Regions from separate parts of the Homo sapiens genome. Here regions 1, 2, 3, 5, 6 and 7 are each linked to region 4. The links are contacts of gene promoters, found by promoter capture Hi-C in blood cells and fetal thymus (Javierre and others, 2016). All regions are on one chromosome and are shown on one strand. The core of a region is centred on a gene start or on the middle of the fragment in contact, and the rest is flanking DNA. Distances in the headings are between cores, read along the strand shown. Region 1 overlaps APBB2 (amyloid beta precursor protein binding family B member 2). Region 2 overlaps RBM47 (RNA binding motif protein 47). Region 3 overlaps APBB2 (amyloid beta precursor protein binding family B member 2). Region 4 holds the start of RBM47 (RNA binding motif protein 47). Region 5 overlaps RBM47 (RNA binding motif protein 47). Region 6 overlaps NSUN7 (NOP2/Sun RNA methyltransferase family member 7). Region 7 overlaps NSUN7 (NOP2/Sun RNA methyltransferase family member 7).

The links. The method cuts DNA at HindIII sites, captures the fragments that hold promoters and counts their contacts. A CHiCAGO score of 5 or more calls a contact.
Region 1: a fragment that was not itself captured here is called in contact with the fragment with the promoter of RBM47 in region 4 in 1 of 17 cell types (neutrophils); the score reaches 8.4 in neutrophils.
Region 2: a contact is called between a fragment that was not itself captured here and the fragment with the promoter of RBM47 in region 4, in 2 of 17 cell types (neutrophils and monocytes). The highest score is 10.0, in neutrophils.
Region 3: a fragment that was not itself captured here is called in contact with the fragment with the promoter of RBM47 in region 4 in 1 of 17 cell types (neutrophils); the score reaches 10.1 in neutrophils.
Region 5: a fragment that was not itself captured here is called in contact with the fragment with the promoter of RBM47 in region 4 in 3 of 17 cell types (neutrophils, monocytes and M0 macrophages); the score reaches 13.0 in neutrophils.
Region 6: a contact is called between a fragment that was not itself captured here and the fragment with the promoter of RBM47 in region 4, in 1 of 17 cell types (neutrophils). The highest score is 8.6, in neutrophils.
Region 7: a fragment that was not itself captured here is called in contact with the fragment with the promoter of RBM47 in region 4 in 1 of 17 cell types (neutrophils); the score reaches 5.2 in neutrophils.

Annotation. Positions count from the first base shown.
Region 1 is chr4:40,851,727-40,854,739 of GRCh38, forward strand. All of the region lies in intron 12 of APBB2 (amyloid beta precursor protein binding family B member 2), which reads right to left. Among named protein-coding and RNA genes, the nearest start is that of NSUN7, 100 kb to the left of the region's middle. The HindIII fragment of the contact is 2,649 bases long and covers 88-2,736 here.
Region 2 is chr4:40,472,771-40,475,643 of GRCh38, forward strand. The region is part of intron 2 of RBM47 (RNA binding motif protein 47); the gene reads right to left. Among named protein-coding and RNA genes, the nearest start is that of MIR4802, 28 kb to the right of the region's middle. The HindIII fragment of the contact is 2,797 bases long and covers 169-2,873 here.
Region 3 is chr4:40,835,066-40,837,776 of GRCh38, forward strand. All of the region lies in intron 12 of APBB2 (amyloid beta precursor protein binding family B member 2), which reads right to left. Among named protein-coding and RNA genes, the nearest start is that of NSUN7, 86 kb to the left of the region's middle. RefSeq lists an enhancer at 707-1,276. The HindIII fragment of the contact is 8,515 bases long and covers 1-2,711 here.
Region 4 is chr4:40,628,112-40,631,125 of GRCh38, forward strand. It overlaps RBM47 (RNA binding motif protein 47), which reads right to left and starts at 1,753. Exons shown (of 7, transcript NM_001098634.2): 1 at 1,285-1,753. RefSeq lists enhancers at 610-1,486, 1,487-2,364, 1,547-1,616. The HindIII fragment of the contact is 8,976 bases long and covers 1-3,014 here.
Region 5 is chr4:40,488,918-40,491,627 of GRCh38, forward strand. The region is part of intron 2 of RBM47 (RNA binding motif protein 47); the gene reads right to left. Among named protein-coding and RNA genes, the nearest start is that of MIR4802, 12 kb to the right of the region's middle. The HindIII fragment of the contact is 2,255 bases long and covers 334-2,588 here.
Region 6 is chr4:40,803,668-40,806,448 of GRCh38, forward strand. All of the region lies in intron 10 of NSUN7 (NOP2/Sun RNA methyltransferase family member 7), which reads left to right. Among named protein-coding and RNA genes, the nearest start is that of NSUN7, 55 kb to the left of the region's middle. RefSeq lists an enhancer at 1,054-1,173. The HindIII fragment of the contact is 3,130 bases long and covers 1-2,781 here.
Region 7 is chr4:40,768,070-40,771,093 of GRCh38, forward strand. All of the region lies in intron 4 of NSUN7 (NOP2/Sun RNA methyltransferase family member 7), which reads left to right. Among named protein-coding and RNA genes, the nearest start is that of NSUN7, 20 kb to the left of the region's middle. The HindIII fragment of the contact is 3,396 bases long and covers 1-3,024 here.

The DNA.
Region 1 (3,013 bases), core at 162-2,661, 220 kb after region 4:
TATATATATATATTTTTTTTTTTTTTTTTTTTCAAAACCAAACCAAAGTTATCTCAAAACTCAAGTTCTCTGACAAACATGTTGTTAAGCTTTCAAGTTCACAATTCTGCAGCTGGAAGAAGGGGGCAGAGAATCCTATCAGAAACTCAGTATTTAGTTCTACTTTACAGCTATAAGGAAATGGCTTCTCTAGCTCTCAAAATGCTCAGTGAATTTCCTGCAAAGTTACTAAGAAAGTTACCCTCTTTGAATTGAAATACATATGGAACAAATTTTATATTTATGAGAGAGTATCAATTGTTGGAACTACAGAGGATGCTGCATGTGAAGTAACTTCAAATGTAATTACGGGGCCGGGCGCAGTGGCTCATGCCTGTAATCCCAGCACTAAGGCCGGTGGATCACTTGAGGTCGGGAGCTCAAAACCAGCCTGGCGAACATAGTGAAACCCCGTCTCTACTAAAAATACAAAAAATTAGTGGGGCATGGTGGTGCATGCCTGTAATCCCATCTATTTGGGAGGCTGAGGCAGGAGAATCGCTTGAACCCGGGAGGCGAAGGCTGCAGGGGGCCGAGATCGTGACACTGCACTCCAGCCTGGGTGACAGAGCAAAACTCTGTCTTCAAAAAAAAAAAAAAAAAAAAGTAATTATGAATGGATTCTTATAAACTGGGAACAAAGGTAGAATAATTCCATATAAATTAAGGCTTAAACCCATCTTCTCTTCTTAGTCTGATTCTTTATTTTCATGCCAGAACAAAGAAAAATGCTCAAAGGTCTCATAACCAGTTGAGAATGACAGAAAGGGTACTGAAGGGTGAAAACATCTTGGAAAAATGGCCAAATACACAAGATTGCACTGGATGGATACGTCTGCTCATCTACACTGGAGAACCAAAGAAAAGAAAGTCAAAGTCTTTTTTTTTTTTCTGAGACAGTGTGTTTCTCTGTCACCCAGGCTGGAGGGCAGTGGCGCGATCTCAGCTCACTGCAACCTCCATCTCCCAGGTTCAAGAGATTCTCGTGCCTCAGCCTCCCTAGTAGCTGGAATTACAGGCATGTGCCACCATGCCCAGGTAATTTTTGTATTTTCAGCAGAGACAAGGTTTTGCCACGTTGCCCAGGCTGGTCTTAAACTCCTAGCCTCAAGTGATCCTTTGGGGACACTCGGCCTCCCAAAGTGCTGGGATTACAGCATGAGCCACCGTGTCTGGCTTAAATCAAGGTCTTGATACAACATAAATGTAAAGGGAGTTGTTCCATGGCTTAATAACTTTGTCCTCGAACAGTTATTACTTCTATTAGCATGTATTTTCTACAGACATAAACAACGCATCAAAGAAATCAGGTATGGTCCTAGATCACACCCCTTCCTGCATCTTCTACAGTCAACTTGGCGAGTTCAACCTCCACATTTCCCCCACCCACCTGCTTCTCTTCATGCCCTCTGCCATGTCACTGATCTCTCCTGGACTAGGGCTAGCCAACTGGTCCCTCGTTTTCCACTCCTGTTCCCAATATCTATTCCCTGAGATCTTTCTGTATGAAATAAACTAGATCATGGCATTCCCCTGGTTAACCCTCTTCACGGGCACCTCATGGCAAACCTTTAAGCACTGCCCACAAGCCCTAAAGGATCCTGTCCCCACCCACCTCTTCCAGCACAAACCACTGGCCTCCTCTTCATCCTCAGGCACGTTGAGTGCTCCACTTCCTCAGTGCTTTCCTTCTTTTTTTTTTTGCGATGGAGTTTCGCTCGTTGTCCAGGCTGGAGTGCAATGGCATGATCTCGGCTCACTGCAACCTCCGCCTCCTGGGTTCAAGTGATTCTCCTGCCTCAGCCTCACGAGCAGCTGGGATTACAGGCACGCACCACCATGTCTGGCTAATTTTTTTTTTTTGTATTTTTAGTAGAGACAGGGTTTCACCATGTTGGTCAGGCTGGTTTTGAACTCCTAACCTCAGGTGATCCACCTGCCTCGACCTCCCAAAGTGCTGGGATTACAGATATGAGCCACCACACCCAGCTGTTCCTCAGTGCTTTCTATTCACTCCCTACATGGCTGGCTTCTTCTCAGCCTTCAAGCCCAGCTCAAATGTTGCCTCCTAGGACAGGCTGCCTCCTGATGGCCCCTTTCCCCTCTGAGCTACTCTGTTGCATCACGCTGTTGATGGTCTTCAAGACACTCGGCATAACCTGTATCATCTTGCTTCCTGAATTGTTTTTCCGGCTTATCTCCTGCCTCTTCAAACAGGGACCTCATCTGTCTCAGTCCTTCATGCTGCCTCACAAGGTGCCTGACACATGGATGCTCCTTATCTGCCGAACAGCATATTAACCATTAGACTATAAATATTAAGCACATGGATGGTCAAAATTAAACCCTAAAAGTAGACAATGAAGTATTTTCATCTACATTCATTCATCTGCCCATTCATCAACTGGGTTATTTATGGAGGGCATCCTATACTAGGTACTATGTTAGGGCCCGAGGAATCCAAAAGTCTAAGAACTCCTCAAATATGTCATATTCTGTGTTCAACACAAGCTCTTTAAAAAGACAAGTTACACTACTACTTAGTATGTTTTTCTGTGATCCTAGAGATTTGTGAAAACCTAGATAAGAGGTTATATGCCATCAGTTTACTCCCAAAAACCCATGAAACGTATATGGAGAGTAAATAGGGACACAGTTAAGTCATCTCTTAACACTCGGGAGCCTGGACAGATGTAAAGCTTTGCTCAGCCAGTGGTACAGAATGAAATTCATTTCCTAGGCCTGGCGCGGTGGCTCACGCCTGTAATCCCAGCACTTTGGGAGGCCGAGATGGACAGATAAGCTAATGCCAGGAGTTTAAGACCAGCCTGGCCAACATGGCGAAACCCTGTCTCTACTAAAAATACAAAAAAATTAGCCATGTGTGGTGGCGGGCGCCTGTAATCCCAGCTACTCGGGAGGCTGAGGCAGGAGAATCGCTTGAATCTGGGAGACACAGGTTGCAGTAAGCCAA
Region 2 (2,873 bases), core at 317-2,816, 160 kb before region 4:
TTAAACTCAAATGTTTTTCACTGCTTGGCAGAATAAAGGAGCTCTCAAAGGAAACCAGATAATTTGGATTTATCCCCTTTTATAGTTTTTGCCATGTGACAGCAAATCAGCTAAAGAAAAAAGATAGCATCTAAAAGAGTGCTAGACTTGAAATGGAGGAATTTTATAAGCTTCCCCATGACATTCAAAAGAAATGCATCCTGAAACATTCCCAAATCACCTTATCCTATGCCACATCCAACGATGTCCCTCATGAAATGAACACAGCCAAGACCAAGTCTAAACCAAATTGAGATGGTATATGTGGTAGGCTAGGTGAACTCACAACCTAAGTAACATAATAATATTAATAATAGTAATGACCATCAACATTCATTGAATGTTTATCATGCACCAGGTATGGCACTAAGCATTCCACATACATCGTCTTATTTAATCATTGCTACAACCTCATGAAGCAAGATCTATGATGCTACTCATTCTGGAGATGCCAGAACTGAGGTATAATGAGGCTGCCCATTTGTTAAGGTCCCTTAGCTGGAAGTGAAGAAGCTGGGGTTCAAACCCCAGGCCTTCTATGGAAGAATCCAATTGCTGCTGCACTCCAATCTGGAAGAGTAGAAAACTGAAATCTGTGCTATAACAAAAATGACAAATGATTCTATATGCATTATATATTACAGCTTCAGAGTCAACATGAGGAGTTAAACCTGAATGGCAAATTCATGAATTGTTAAGGCCTACCAGGTAGGAATTTTTTCAAGAACCCCAATATTCAGCTTTAAACAGTAAATGATATTCTCAACCTAGGTTAGAAATATAGATAGGAGTTCAACTTTTTGGGTGACGAATAGAGAATATCAGATAGGCATAAATATCATGGGCTCAGAAATATCTGGTGTTCTGACTTGTTTCCTAGCTTCTTAAAAAACTATCACACTTTAGAAAGTTTTTGAGGACTCAGAGACCCCACAAAATGAGTAAACAAAACTGCAATTTCACTTTCTACTGCTTAGTTAATAATCTCTAATCAGACAGTTGTTTCCTGCTAACACCTAACAAAATTATCCACCTCTTTCAAATAGCAAAGAAAATGAACATACTAACATTCTTACAGTGGAAATATAATTTTACAAATAAACACAAATTACTGAATCTTTACATATGATTCACAGATGGTGGTGATGAGATTATCATGCCCCTCCCCACTCCGTCTTTGTGCACTGACATTTGACCCTTTTTATAATATGCACCTTGTACCAGTGAAACCTAAGGCACCAGTTAGTTACTCATTAAACTTGGGTGCTGAGGGCTGACTTGTACAAATTACGCTGTTAACTGCCCAGCCTGGCCTCTGTGCAGAAGTGGAAAAAAGCAATCATCATAGCTGTGAAATTCTGTCATATCGGCAGAATTGAACTACAAATTGCAGCAATTCGTACCTGACCTCTGATCTGTGAAGTTAGTCTAAACCTTTGAACCTTAGCTTGGAACCGAGAAGCAGCACTGACTTATACAGGACAAGGTGGCTAGCAAGCGTTCTCCATCGTGAATAGTTAACACTGTGACTGTTGGTCGCCCCCCACACCCACCTCCCCCACAGAGTCATCCAGAGTAAAAGACACAAATAACGATGATCTTGAGAATGGCAGACGTCTTACAAAAAGGCATTTGGAACAAATCTAATACAAGTATACAATTTCAGGATGCAAGTCTTTTTAAATGAATATGTCAAAATAAGAAAATGGAATCTGCAATAACTGAAATTCTTGGATATTTAATACTTTGTGATATGTACATTAAAAAATTTCCTTTACAAATTAGACCAAAGTAGAGTTCAAAATGAAATATTTAAATACATTTTTAATCAAATGGTGCCATCTCTCATTTGTCACATTTTAAAATAAACATATTACCTAATCTCTGTTATAAAATACAAACCCATATTAAGCCACCTTTGGCAAAAAGCAATCAGGGAAAACCAGTTACACTTTTCTTTGAACCCAAACTTATCTTTTGACACTAAATATCAGATGTAGGCTAATAAAAAGTATAAGAATATGCATTTCTCACATATACATTTTGTTGCAACATTGATTCATCATAATGAGAAGGGAGAAGGGTTAAGAGAGAAGAGTATTTTTCTTTAAAAGATTAGCTTCTACTTCAAATGCTATTCAAATTGCTCCACTGCCAGACAGAAATGACTAAAGATTCTACTTCTCTGGTCATTTGAGTTAATATTAAAACAAATTTTGAATAGCATATAAAATATAACTAAACAATTATTTATAATGAAAGTGAAACTAATGTTAATACTTTAAAGCATATAATCTACACCTAAATAATTCCATTTCATAAATTTAACTATTGGTTTGAAAACAATGATAAAAGTCTTCTTATACAAGAACTTTACTCTGAGAGGAAATGTCATCATTGTCAACCTTTATATGCTAATTATCATAAAGCTAATTCCATTAATTTTTCCTTATTTTAATTATCACATCTTAAAATTATAATTTCCTTCTCTAAACACTGACTCTGAAATGGCTTTAAAAATCAAATATGGGCAACACTGCTGATAAATTCCTGCTTCTTACCCCATAGTTTAAATAACAGGAAACTATAAAACAACAACAATACTGTGAAGATCTAGATTTTTCAAGCATATAAAGTGAAAAGCTGTTAGAAAAACTCATTTTTTAGAAAATGTTTTTAACTTAAGAATTTTGGTTTTACTGCTGGTAAGGCAGACTGTGCAGCAGTTGAAATTCTTACCAACTTCCAAATTTTTTTGGGGGGGTCTTCAATTAAAAAACAAACAATATGGATCATTTGTTTATCTGGTCTGATCTAAATTGCTTTAACCAAAC
Region 3 (2,711 bases), core at 4-2,503, 210 kb after region 4:
AGGAGATCGAGACCATCCTGGCTAACACGTGAAACCCCGTCTCTACTAAAAATACAAAAACTTAGCCGGGCGTGGTGGCGGGCGCCTGTAGTCCCAGCTACTCAGGAGGCTGAGGCAGGAGAATCGCTTGAACCCGGGAGGTGGAGGTTGCAGTGAGCCGAGATCGCGCCACTGCACTCCAGCCTGGGTGAGAGAGCAAGATTCCGTCTAAAAAAAAAAAAAAAAAAATTCAATTCACTTCTACAAGCACCTTCTAGCTGATATTATGTATCAGGAACCAGTGAGGCAAATTCAAACAGATAAGGTTCCAGCCTTGCAAGCCCGTCTAATGTTACAGACGGGCAATGAGGTTTGAGCTGCTTCTTTAAGTGTAAGAAGGACCTCATCACAGTAAGAAGGCAGCAGACAGCTCAAAGAACATTGAAACAGGTATGAGCAAAGGCAGGGAGGTCAGAAGGCCCCCCAGTTGTTTGCGAGAACTCCCAGCTGCCCTATGCATATGCCCCAGGCACTGTGGTGAGGCTCAGGTGCCGCTGCAGGGGTGCTGTGCGGGAGTCTGTACTCAGTTTGCACAGTGCCTTGTGTCTTGCCAGGACTGGCCCTTACTCCGAGCCATCCCAGTCTTGCAATATTACAGGTGACCCCATGTGATTTGTTTGGTGGGAGAAAGCCGGCCAAGGGAAGGGGACTGCTGGGGGCCACTGCGGTGGTCCAGCGCAGGGGGATGAGCAAAGTGCAGGCTAAATCAGCATCTGCGAGAACAGGGCAGAGGAGACAGATGGAAGAGGTGTTGGAAGGATAGCTGGCAGGAGTGGCAGATGTGTGAGAGACGTGGATGAGGGAGGCGATTAAGAATAACTCTGGGGTCCCTGCTAGGACAGCTAAGCACCCCATCACTGGAGTGGGGGAGGGAAGGAGGGCTGGTTTGGTGCAAGAAGTTGATGAGCTCCAGGGTGGACAAGACGTGTGGGGTGCTTGTGCTTGAGGAGCACCAGGTGACGAGGCCCACCAAGCAGGTGGGTGCTGGGACCCTGCACTGAGGCCTGCGGTCTGGGCAGGAGACATGGATCTGGGAGGTGGGTGAAGTCGGGGGAGCAGGTGAGAGTGTGGAGCATGAAAAGACAAAGCTGGCCGGGCGCGGTGGCTCATGCCTGTAATCCCAGCATTTTGGGAGGCCAAGGCGGGTGGATCTCTTCAGGTCAGGAGTTCAAGACCAGCCTAGCCAACATGGCAAAACACCATCTCTACTAAAAATACAAAAATTAGGCGGGTGCGGTAGTGTGCACCTGTAATCCCAGCTACTTGGGAGGCTGAGGTGTGAGAATCACTTGAACTCAGGAGATGGAGGTTGCAGTAGGCTGAGATTCCACCACTGCACTCCTGCCTAGGCAAACACAGCAAGACTCCATCTCAAAAACAAACAAACAAACAAACAAACAAAAAACATGTCAAACCAAGGCCTGGCGACTGGGGAAGAAAGACATTTAGAGGCCTTGTTTGAGGCAGGAGGTCCAATGAGAAGGTGGGAAAAAAATTGCTGGGGAAGAGGGCAGGAGAAGCCCAGGAGAGGCTGGTCCCAAAGATATCAAAGAAAGGGGGTTGAGGGAAAGGGGTAGAGAGCTTTCCAGAACAGTGGGAGACAGGCCAGGTGGTCTCAGCCACAGGGAGGTCTGCAGTGACCTTGGCCTCCTGGACCCTTACCTGGGAGAAGGAGTTTGGGGCCCAGCCTGAGGAGTACAGGAGTTAAAAGAACAGAGTTCATCCATCTCTCTCCTTTCTGTTTTTTACTCTTCTCCTTCTGGAACTTTCCAAACACACATAAAAATTGAGAAGATAGTAAACAAACTCTATATCCCATCAGCTGGCTTCCACAGTGATCAAAATGTCACCCATTAGTTTTTTACACAGCTGGGTTTTTCCCCAATCCCAGTGTCATGATGCTAAAGGCCACTGTGGTCATACGTAAGAGCAACAGGGTAGGTCCTTGATTTTCTTGTATTCTGAGGGGGAGAAGAAATTGCTTTGTAGTAAACACACCTCCACACTCAGAGTGTTCCTGACAGACTGTGCAAACCTAAACTGGTGCGATCAGCTCAGGCCGAGCATGTGGGCTGGGGAGGAAAGAGTGTGTCGGGTGCCACATGGCCATCAGGCGTCAGGCAGCCAAGCAGGCAGGGCCCGTAGCCAGCTCTGTTGCTGCATGGGACACGGGGGCTGGCTGGTCCACTGCAGGCACCTTTGAGGAGCCTTCAGGTTGGGAGCCCTTGAGGGCTATCCTTCCGTTAGCACTTCCGGCTTCCAGAGCACCAGGAGGGTCCCATCTCAGACAGGCTGGGAGCCATACTCATTAACCGGGCGCCTCACACAGCCACGCAGGGTCCAGGCTTCAGCATCTCGTCTGTAAAACCACACAGCTGGCCCAAAAGATCTCCAAGGGCCAGAAAGAACATCACTCCCAGTTTTTCCAACAGCTTCTAGATTCCCAGGAACCTGTGGTTATCTGAAATTCTACCACCTGTGATCATCAGACACGATCTGTCTGACACTTGGCAGCAAGACCCGTTTCTGCTCTCTGCTCCAGCTCATGCCATACCCTAGCCATTTACAAGGCTAGGCCAGGAGCCATCTGCTGCCCATACATGGAGTCTCACTCCATTTAACGCCTGCAGTCATGAGAATCATTGCGTTTTCTTTTATAAGCCAGGAAGTGG
Region 4 (3,014 bases), core at 503-3,002:
CTTGGGAAATTTCTGAGACCCCATCCTTCCAGCATGCAATAATTAAGTCAAAGAGGCCAACAGTGTGTATATCAGAACAAGGTGAAGGGTAAAGCAGACCAGAAAAAAATATTAAAAACCAAACCATCTCCTCCTTTCTTTTTTTCCTTCTGTTTTCCTTTCAGACTGGGTTGATTTTAGTTCCCTCCAAGACTTCAAGTCATTGATCTAACAAAGATCATTGTTTAAATTAATAGCAACACAAACTCCCACAAAGTGATCTCTTCTTATGCTCTAGGTTGAGTACTTTGGTTTATCTAGAGGTTGTGTGTTACGCCGCTGACCACCTTTCACCTTTTAGAATCGGCACCTGCAATTCTCAAATGCTCTGGATCTAATTGCCAACCTTTTGAGCTCAAAACTTCGGCAACTCCTTCATGTTGGGTTGTCAACCCTTTGCTTTCCCTCCCCTGAGAAATTCGTATGACCTTGCCTTAAAACTTTTAAAGAATACATTTTAAAATCTATATTCCTGCTAAAGAAAACAGTGAGTCATTAAAATACCACCAGATAAAAAAAAAAGGTTTGATTTTTAGTTCAGGTCGGTAATGGCCTGTAAGTACCTTGAAGATGGTATCTTCCTATCACTTATGCCTTGGGACAGTACCCAAGAGTGGCTGAACTTTTACCTAATTAAAAAATGAGTCATTTATTTGAAAAATTCCACTTCCATTTATTTTATCTGATTTCTTAAATATCCGGTCAACTGCTAATTTGTCAGATGTCATAATTCGTCAGTCCTACCCTTTTCTACAGGCTGAATTTTTAATTTGAAACAACTACACCTCTACCGAGTGTTACTTTCAGACGTAAATTACTGCAGGAAGACCCCCCTCTGCCTTGGTTAACACTTAAATGAGATGCCTCCTGTCCAGGACGCTTCCTCAGTCTCACTGTAATAATCTGAGTCTAAAGTCACCTGTGCTTCTGGGCGGTCCAATCATGTATTTTCAAGAGTGAAAAAAAAAAATCAGTTTCTTTTATGGGAAAAGATTCATCACTACAGGAAACACGATGGGACTGACTGTATATGATTATCTGCCTTCCCAGAGGTTGACCCTTTTAAAACCGTTTTATAAACCCTTTATTTCCCACTAAATATACCAAGAGACAGAAGATGAGTGATAGCATGAGGGATAAGAGCTAAAGAGAGAAGAATAAGAAAAAAATATACACTTCAAAAATTGGGACCCAAATGTAAGATTAAGGGACAATAGTTAGAAGGACTACCAAAAACCACCTTACCTTTCCTTGTTAAGTTTTTGGAGCCGCCCACTTCAGAAATTAACACCATTCACAGCCCAGGAGCAACTTAACACAGCTAGGAAGTCACCTACAACATCTTCTCGTCCGCCTTCTTTTTAATGTAAAACCAAAATAAGGAGTGTCCAGCGACTCCCCACCGCGCCGCTTAAAGCAACAGAGCGTTTTAGGCTTAACTCCCAGGCTCTGGGAATTCCAGTGGGTCAGAATTGCTTAACCTTGGAGACTTGCAGAGAGAAAGTCTCCAGGAGGACCGCTCCCCAAACCCTGGTTTCTCTCTATCCCAAGCTGCACATTCCACAGTGGAAAGCGGGAGCGGCGACCCGAAGGCAGCGAAGTTCTCTCGGGCTCAGCTCCCGAGGCCGGGAGCGCGCGGCGGTTCCACCCGCAGAGCGGCGCCGCGTCCCGGCTGCGTGGGGCGCTGCGCACGGGAGCGCTCAGCGTCTAGTCTGCGGGCCCTTCCCGGTTCCCTCCCTCTCTCCTCCCGCCGCCCGCCCCCTGCCGAGGCCATCCGCCTCACAGTAGCAAGGTTGTCTCTCGTCTACTCCCTTCCCTTAAACTCACCAAACCAGATTTTTACTCCCAACACCGGCAACTTCCCGTAAATCTGCCCTGAAATTTTATCCTGCTGGCTGAGCCTCCCCTGGCTAAAGGCCAGTGCCACATTCCTGTTGTTTTTTAGGAGCGCAGATACCTTTGCTGAAGGTTCAAAGAAAATCGGCCTTGATGGCAGAGATTGGGGGACTTGACCAGACGGACTTCTCTCCCCGCCCCAAAAGTCACATGCCTTTCAGACACCCAGAAGTGGCACCTGCTCCACCTGGGGGCATCTGTCCGAGTCAGACGCTCGGCCCCCTTCGGGCTGCTCCGAGAAACCCAGCCAGAACCACGTTGGAGAAATTAGGAACCTGCTGCTGAATTTCAAGCCGATCGGAACCGCCCCGCTCCCCTTCTTCCCCCCATAAACAAGTCGCTGGACGAGGTGGGATCTCTGCGACCCCCGCGTGCCCGGGGAGAGCTCCCGGGGCGAGCTCCCGGGGCGTCCTTACCTGGGGCCGAGCATGGCTTGGCCGCGCGCAGGCAGGAGCGTCACGCGGACGGGGCCCTGACCTTTGCCGGGGCCTTCGCAGCAGGGCCTGGGGCCTGGGCGCTGCTCGTTCAGAAGTGGCTCATTTTAGTGCGCTCTGACCTAGAGTTACGGAGGGTTTCTAGAAAGGGAACAAAAAAACACTGCATTTAGAAACAGCAGCCAAGCCCTCGCTTCACCTTGCCTGCTCTCTGGGGAGTTGGCTCGAACCCCCACCCCATCCCAATTCCCAAGAAACCCAGATGTCCGCAATCCGCGCCCCACCCCCTCCGCCTTACCTGTTTATACAAGAGTTAAGGAGCCTCCCGCATTTCAGTGGAGCGCTAAGCCTGTTTGTAGGCGCGGAATGGGCCAACAGGAATCGAATTCTGTGACTAAACAAACTAGAAGAGGAAGCAGGCACCACCAGGAACCTAAAACAGAGTTGTGATTTCGGGTTGCAGTGTCATTCAGCTGAGGGGAAAGAAAAAAATACCGGGCTACTTTAGTGAAAGAATGTTCCAAAAATGGTTCTTTGCTGGTTGAGTTAACACATGCAAAGAGCTTAGAACGGTGCCTAGCACACAGTGTTAGCTGCCGTTATTGTTGTTGTTATTCTTCTTATTATTATTTACATTATGGCTTT
Region 5 (2,710 bases), core at 211-2,710, 140 kb before region 4:
GAGACTGAGGCTTACAAAGATTAAATAAGTGTTCAAAGTCTCACAACTATTAGGTGGCAGATGTAGAACTCATATCCAGGTTCCCAAACCCCAGAGCCCAAGTTTTTGCCCCAGAATCACAATGCTATATGGACTGCACCATAATGAAACAGCTGTGTCAACTGTACTCTGTATGCCCCCCTCATGTATTCAGTTGCCCTGTAACTCTGTCCCCAAAGGAGAAAGTTTGCATGCCCTGACTGTTTCAGCATTGGTCACTCATACTCACAAACTGTCCTGTAAAATGGAGCTTGGGGGAATGGAGATAACAGTTAAAATACAGTAAACAATCTAAGCTTTCAGTTTAAGAAGCCAGAAAAAAGAAGGGCAAAATAAATCTGAAACAGATTAAGGAAGGAAATAATAATGATTTAGGTGGGAATAAAGCAAATACGGACTATAAAAACAAAATAAAAGTTAATAAAACCAAAAGTTGGTTCTTTGAAAAGAGCAACAACATTGACAAACCACTAGCTAGAATGACAAAGAAATGAAAAGACTCAACTTACTAAACTCAGGGATAAGAGAAGTGACAACACTACTGACCTTCTAGAAATAAAAAGGATAGCAAAGAAATACTATGAACAATTATATGCCAGCAAATTAGATAACCTACATGTAGAGGAGAAATTCCTAGAAAGATGCAAAGGGCCAAAATAGACTCAAGAAGAAATAGAATATCTGAATAGACTTATAAGTAAATACACTGAATTTGTAACATAAAAATTTTCCACAAAGAAAAGCCCAAGAACAGATGACTTCTCTGGAGGATTCTATCAAATGTTTTAAAGTCTAATTACCACCAATCCTTCACAAATTCTTCCAAAAAACAGAAGGGACTAGAACACTTCCCACTGAGGCCAGTATTACATGCATAGAAAATACAGACAAAGTTATCAGAAAATGACAAATCAATATGTCTTATGCATATGGACTTTTTAAAAATACACAACTAAATACTAATAAACTGAATTCAGCAACATGACCAAGTCTGATTTAACCCAGAAATGCAAGATAGCTTAACAGATGAAAATCAATCAGTGCAATACACCATATCAACAAAAGACAAAAACTATACACAGTAATCTGAATAGCTGCCAGAAAAGCATTTGATACAATGCACCAACCCTTCATAACTAAAACACAACATATTAAAGCAGAAGGGAACTTCTTCAATCTGATAAATAACATCTACAAAAAACCCATGACTAATACACTTAATGTGAAAAAGACTGAATGCTCTCCCCATGAAGAACAGCAACAAGGATTTGCACTCTCTCAACTTCTATATGCAACATTGTACTTGTTTCTAGCCAGGATAAATAGAAAAAAAGGAAAAAGAAAAAAAAAGAAAGAAAGGGGATCCATATGGGAAAGGAAGAAATAAAACTCTGTTCATAGATGACGTAGTCAATTACATGTAAAAAACCTAAGGAATCCATTAAAAAATTATTAGAACTAATAATCAAGTTCAACAAGGTTGCAGGACATAAAAGCAATATAGAAAAATCAATTATAAATTTCTATCTACTAGCAATGAACAAACTAAAATATAAAATTAACAAAGCAATTTCATCTACAATAGCATCAAAAATAATACAAGTGTTAAAACTACAAAACATTGTTCAAAGAAATCAAAGATCTAGGCCATCTATTAAAAATACAAAAATTAGCCGGGCGTGGTGGCGCCTGGCCGAGACATAAGAATCACTTGAACCCGGGAGGCGGAGGTTGCAGTGAGGAGAGATCGCGCCACTGCACTCCAGCCTGACAAGTGAGACTCTGTCTCAAAAAAAAAAGAGAGAAAAAAAATCTAAATAAATGGAAAGACACTGCTTGTTCATGAATAGAAGACTGAACGCTGCTAAAATGACAATACTCCTCGATCTGATCTACAGAGTCAACACAATATTCCCATCAAAATCTCAGCTAGTTTCTGGGAAAAAAAATTGATAAATGGATACTAAAATTCCTACAGAAATTCAAGGGGCCCAGAATAGCCAAAACAAACTTGAAAAAGAAGAACAAAGCTCAAGGACTCACCCTTCCAGGTTTCAAAATTTACTACAAAGCTACAGTAAACGAGACAGTGTATAGGGTGCAGAAATCTTAGGGGAAAACCATAAGGTGCGGGGAGGGTGGGCAGCGTGGTACTGGCATAAGGATGGCCATAGGACAATAGATTCGAAATGAGAGTTCAGGGAAAAAACCCAAAACATGTATCTGTGGTCAATCGATTCCGGACAAGGGTGCCAAGACTATTTGATGGGAATAGTCTTTTGAAGAAATTATGCTTTAATAACTGGATACGCACAATGCAAAAGAATAGAGTTGGACCCCTAATTCATATCATATACAAAAATTAAATCATTATAGATCAACCACCTCATAAGAGCTAAAACTGTAAAACTCTTGGAAGAAAACATGGGTATAAATCTTCATGACCTTAGCTCAGGTAGGCAGCAGCCTTTTAGATATGATACCTTTCAAATATGATAAACACAGCAATAAAAGAAAAAATAATGAAATTGTCCTTTGTCAAAATGGGAAGCTTTATTTCTCAAAGGACACCATTAAGAAAGGAAAGACAACTTACAAAATGAGAGAAAATATTTGCAGATGTATATTTGATAATAGCCTTGTATCTAGAATATATAAAGAACTCCTACAA
Region 6 (2,781 bases), core at 269-2,768, 180 kb after region 4:
GTGTACAATTCAGTGCCTTAAAATATTAATACATTCACGAAGTTGTACAACAATCACCATTAACTTTTGTATATGATAAGAGTTAGGAGTCCAAATTCCTTCTTTGCGTGTGGTCATCCAGTTCTCCCAGCAACACTTGTGGAAAAGATTATTCTCCCCTATTGAATGGTCTTGGCACCCTTGTTGAAAATCAGTTAGTTAATCCCAGCCTGGGCAACATAGAGAGACCCCATCTCCACAAAAAATCAGCCAGGTGTGGTGGTGCCTACCTGTAGTCCTAGCTACTCAGGAGGTCAAGGCTGTAGTGAGCTGTGATTGGGAGACAGAGCAAAAGCCTGTCTAAAACAAAAAGAAAGAAAATAGAAAACCCACTAATCATAGATGCATGGGCTTATTTCTGGACTCTCATTCTATTCTCATTCTATCCGTTGATTTATATGTCTATACTTAAGCCAACAGCACAATAAGAGGTTTTCAAAATCACTAATGGGGCCGGGCATGGTGGCTCACGCCTGTAATCCCAGCACTTTGGGAGGCTGAGGTGGGCGGATCACCTAAGGTCAGGAGTTCGAGACCAGCCTGGCCAATGTGGCAAAACCCCGTCTCTACTAAAAATAAAAAAATTAGCCAGGCGTGGTGTCAGGCGCCTGTAATCCCAGCTACTTGGGAGGCTGAGGCAGGAGAATCGCTTGAACTAGGAGGCGGAGGTTGCAGTGAGCCGAGATCACGCCATTGCACTCCAGCCTGGGTGACAGAGCAAGACTCCATCTCAAAAAAAAAAAAAAATCACTAATGGATGCCTAGTTTTATGAAAAGCCTTTGCAGCATTTAATGATATGATCAGATATTATTTCTCATCTGACATTTTAACATGGTAGTGAATTACATTTAGTAATTACATTTTCCAATTTTCTATTAGAAAATTACATTTTCTAATAGTGAACAGTCTTTGAGCTTGAGGTCTAGGTTGTGTTCTGTGTTTTGATTTTCTGTTACCTAGTAAGAGTGGAGGGCACGAAGGTGAGCAGTGCATGAGAGGTCTTAGTGTGCACGCACCAGAGTACATGCTTCTCTGGTCTTAGTACTCATTATGGTCATCAGTATCTGCACATGCCTGGCTTCTGGTGGTTAATTTGCTCACCTGGTCTCTCTTGTTTCAGGATCCTATTATTTTCATTGCTGTCAATGAGCCCAGTTGTGTCACTGCATCCCCTACTGTCAGCCCTGGCCTGCAGAGGAAAACCACCACCAAACCTCTCAGTGCTGTGGTGCCCCTCTCACCAGGCCATTCCTTGCTGCTTGATAGTGGGTGTACTTTTGGGACCCTCCTCTCAACATAGCCTTCTGGTGGGTTTTCCAGCCTTAATAGTGTTATCCACGGCAGCGAGCTCACTTCTCTGTCCTCTTGTTCCTTCTTCTACTGCTTGCCATCTGCAGCCTGGCATTGCTTCCTCACCAAGTGTGAGCCATTGTGTGTTTGTTTTCTTTTTAAGAAATTACCTCAAACTTAGTGGCTAAAAACATCTATTACTTAGGTCACATAAGTCAGATATATCTGGCATGGCACAGCCAGGTTCTCTGCTCAGGATATGAGCTAGGCTGAAGTCTCTGGAGGCTCTGGGAACAGTTTACTTCCAAACCCACGCTTGTGTTTGCGGGACTGAGGTCCTCGTCTCCTTGCTGCTGTCACTTGACTGCTTTCCACTCCTAGAGGCCACTTTATTCCTTGTCCCGAGTTCCCCAATCTGTGCACCTGCAGTAGCTGTCATAGCATCTTGTGTTTTGAATCTCTGACTTCTTCCATGTCTGACCTCTAGACCCTGATTTCAAAGGTCATGTGATTAGGTCAGATCCACCCAGATAATATCCCTATCTTCGGGGTAACTAACGTGGGACCTATCCTACATCTGCAAAATCCCCTTTGTCATGTGTGTTAGTTTCCTGGGCTGCTGAAAGAAATTCCTCCAAACTTGGTGGCTTATGATAACAAACATTTATTCTCTCATAGTTCCGGAGGCTGGGAGTCCTAAACCAAGGCATTGGCAAGGTGCTGGCCGGTTGGATTCCTCCTGGGGCCTGTGCTGGAGAGGCCTGTCCCCTGCGCTCTCCCAGCTTGTGGTGGTTGCTGGCTGTCCTTGCTGTTCTTTGGCTTGTAGCTGTGTCACATGGACACTATTATTATTATTATTATTGAGATGGAGTCTTGCTCTGTCACCCAGGATGGAGTACAGTGGTGTGATCTCAGCTAATTGCAACCACCACCTCCTGGGTTCAAGTGATTCTCCTGCCTCAGACTCCCAAGCAGCTGAGATTAAAGGCACCTGCCACCACACCTGGCTAATTTTTGTTTTTTTGAGCCAGAATTTCACTTTTGTTGCCCAGGCCGGAGTGCAATGGTGCAATCTTGGCTTGAACCTCTCAGGTTCAAGCAATTCTCTTGCCTCAGCCTCCCGAGTAGCTGGGATTACAGGAGTCTGCCACCACACCCGGCTAATTTTTGCATTTTTAGCAGAGACGGGGTTTCACCATGTTGGCCAGGCTGGTCTCGAACTCCTGGCCTCAAGTGATTTGCCTGCCTCGGCCTCCCAAAGTGCTGGGATTACAGGCGTAAGCCACGGCACCTGGCCAGGACACAATGATTAATAAAAGATTTCCTGATAGTTTAACTCATGTGGAATAGTGTTTAATTGCTTTAACTTATTATTAAATATATTTTAATAATATAAGCCTGGAAATAGAATCATTTATTATTCATGATGAACCACTTACTAAGAAATGATA
Region 7 (3,024 bases), core at 281-2,780, 140 kb after region 4:
AGACAGCAGGAAGCCAACTCTATCTGCCTTCTAGGGCTTGAGACTGTAGTTCCCAAGGAAGTTCAGTCACTGTAAGCTCAAAGTATACCTTAGCATATATCTACTTAGAGGATAAAGACTAATTCTTTTTTTTTCTTTTTTTTTTTTTTTGAGACGGACTCTTGCTCTGTCGCCCATGCTGGAGTGCAATGGCACAATCTCGGCTCACTGCAACCTCCACCTCCTGAGCTCAAGCAGTTCTCCTGCCTCAGCCTCCCAAGTAGCTGGGATTACAGGTGTGCGCCATTATGCCTGTGTTTTTGTAGAGATGGGGTTTCAGCATGTTGGCCAGGCTGGTCTCAAACTCCTGACCGCAGGTGATCCTCCCGCCTCGGCCTCCTAGAATGCTGGGATTACAAGTGTGAGCTGCCGTGCTCGGCCAGATAAAGACTAACTCTAAGAGGTTATAGAAGAAGAAGTAATTAGCAAGAAGCTGAATGAGAATGATTTCCTCCTTGTAAAAGTGGTTTGACCTTTGTTGTTGTTCCTCCTGGGAATCCTTGTGTTTTTTCACTCTTATACCCCTAAGCACCAACATGTATCTTTTTCTTCACTTATTCGTGGGTTTAGACATGTAATCCAAGATGATACCTATTATCATTTTTTTTACATATGAAAGGTCTTTAAGAACCCATTCTTTGTATAAAATGTAACTGTCTTTTTAATACTGTGTGACCAGGTTAAAAAAAGAGAGACCACAACCCCTTGTTTCTCACTCCCCATGCCTTTCCACCAGCCCAATAATCTATTTCTATTAAATTATTTGTTGGACTGTTGTGAGGCAGCAATTGGAAAATAAGCAGTGAAAAAGTAGAGAAAGGAGGGGAAAGACTTAGTCAGTTCTTCTTCCAAACCACCCCAAAACCATTTATTCTGATGTCTTCCACTTCACAGCTAAGGCATCACCATCTACCTAGACATCATCCTTGATTCTTCTTTCCTCCCCTCCCCTGCACTCAATCTGTGTCTAATGCATCAAGTCCTGTAACTCCAATTCAAAAACATACACTGAGCCTGTGTGCTTCTTTCCATTTCCACTACTACCATCCAAATCTATGCCACCATAATCTATCACTTGGACTACCATGATAGCTTCCTTAGATACATTTCCCTGGCCTATAACTCTCACTTTCCTGCAATCTATTCCACATGGCAGGTAGAGTGATATTTTCAAAATGTAATTGTATGGTCATGATAGAATATCTTGGATCAGTCTTCCCCTTCTACTGTAAACAACTAGAAAACTGGCCAAAATATATCATAGGACGTAAAGGTTTTGGACATTAGACAAGAAGCAGCACAGAAACCTGATCCCTGAAAGAACAAAACAAATGAGGTGAGCCCTAGAATAGTCCTGGCTTTATGCCTGGAAGAATTCTCAAACTGCAATGCAGAAAGTAGAAAACAGCAGTCTTGCTGAGTTAAGAAAACAGAGAACAGTTTTAGAAGACTGAAGTGATTGTTTTTCTTCTTTATTGTATTAAGTGGCCAGGTGATTTACATTGACTGGTTTATGAATGTTAAACCAGCCATGCATTTTTGGGATAAGGCACATTTGCTCAGATATATTCTTTTTCTTATCTTCCCCAGTTTCTCTCATTCCCCATAATGCTCCAGAATTTCTAATTGCCAAAATGCCCTTTAAATACTTGTTCATGGGTTTTATCTCTCACATTCTCTCCGCTCCTTCTTCAGAAACTCTTCACCTGTTTCACTTACCTAGTAAAGAGTCTGAAGCAGATGACTGATTTTACATTTTTCTGGGAAATTCAAGCAGTTCATTGAAGATTATCTTTTGGCATTAAGAAAATGCAATCAAGGTCAGGCGTGGTGGCTCACGCCTGTAATCCCAGCACTTTGGGAGGCCGAGGCGGGTGGATCTCCTGAGGTCGGGAGTTCGAGACCAGCCTGGACCAACATGGAGAAGCCCCATCTCTACTAAAAATACAAAATTAGTCAGGCGTGGTGGTGCATGCCTGTAATCCTACCTACTTGGGAGGATGAGGCAGGAGAATCACTTGAACCCGGGAGGCGGAGGTTGCAGTGAGCCAAGATCATGCCACTGCACTGCAGCCTAGATAACAAGAGGGAAACTCCATCTCAAAAAAAAAAAAAAAAAAAGAAATTGCAATCAAGTGTCACTTAATGATGGGGATACATTCTGAGAAATGTGTCGTTAGGTGATTTCTTCTGATGGGAACATCGTAGAACATACTTACACAAATCTAGATGGTATAACCTACTGCACACCTATCCTATATGGTATAACCTAGTGCTCCTAGGCTACAAACCTGCACAGCATGTTATGTACTGAATACTGTAGGCAATTATAACACTATGGCAAGTATTTGTGTATCTAAACCTATTTAAATATAGCAAAGGTACTACCGTAGTAAACTTTTATGGGACCACCATCATAAACAGAGTTCATCATTGACCTAAATGTCATTATGCAGCAGATGACTTTATTCAATTTATATTTAAAGAGAACCACAGTTCTGATATGTTAGACATTAGTAATGCCATTCAAAAACTTGAGTCAAAAACTACATAAATATTTCTGAAAATTTAAAAAATGTAAATGTATATTACAAAAAGCCAAAAGAAGTAGTAAAAAGCCAAAAAAGAGTAATATCAATTTCATTTAAAAATAAACTGAGGTGGCTGGGCACGGTGGCTCACACCTGTAATCCCAGCACTTTGGGAGGCCAAGGTGGGCGGATCGTGAGGTCAAGAGATCGAGACCATCTTGGCCAACATAGTGAAACCCCATCTCTACTAAAAATACAAAAATTAGCCAGGTGTGGTGGTGTGCACCTGTAGTCCCAGCTACTTGGGAGGCTGAGGCAGGAGAATCTCTTGAACCCAGGAGGCGGAGGTTGCAGTAAGCCGAGATTGCACCACTGCACTCCAGCCTGGTGACAGAGCAAGACTCTGCCTCAAAAAATAAAAAATAATAAACTGAGGAAAAATGGCATATTAGTT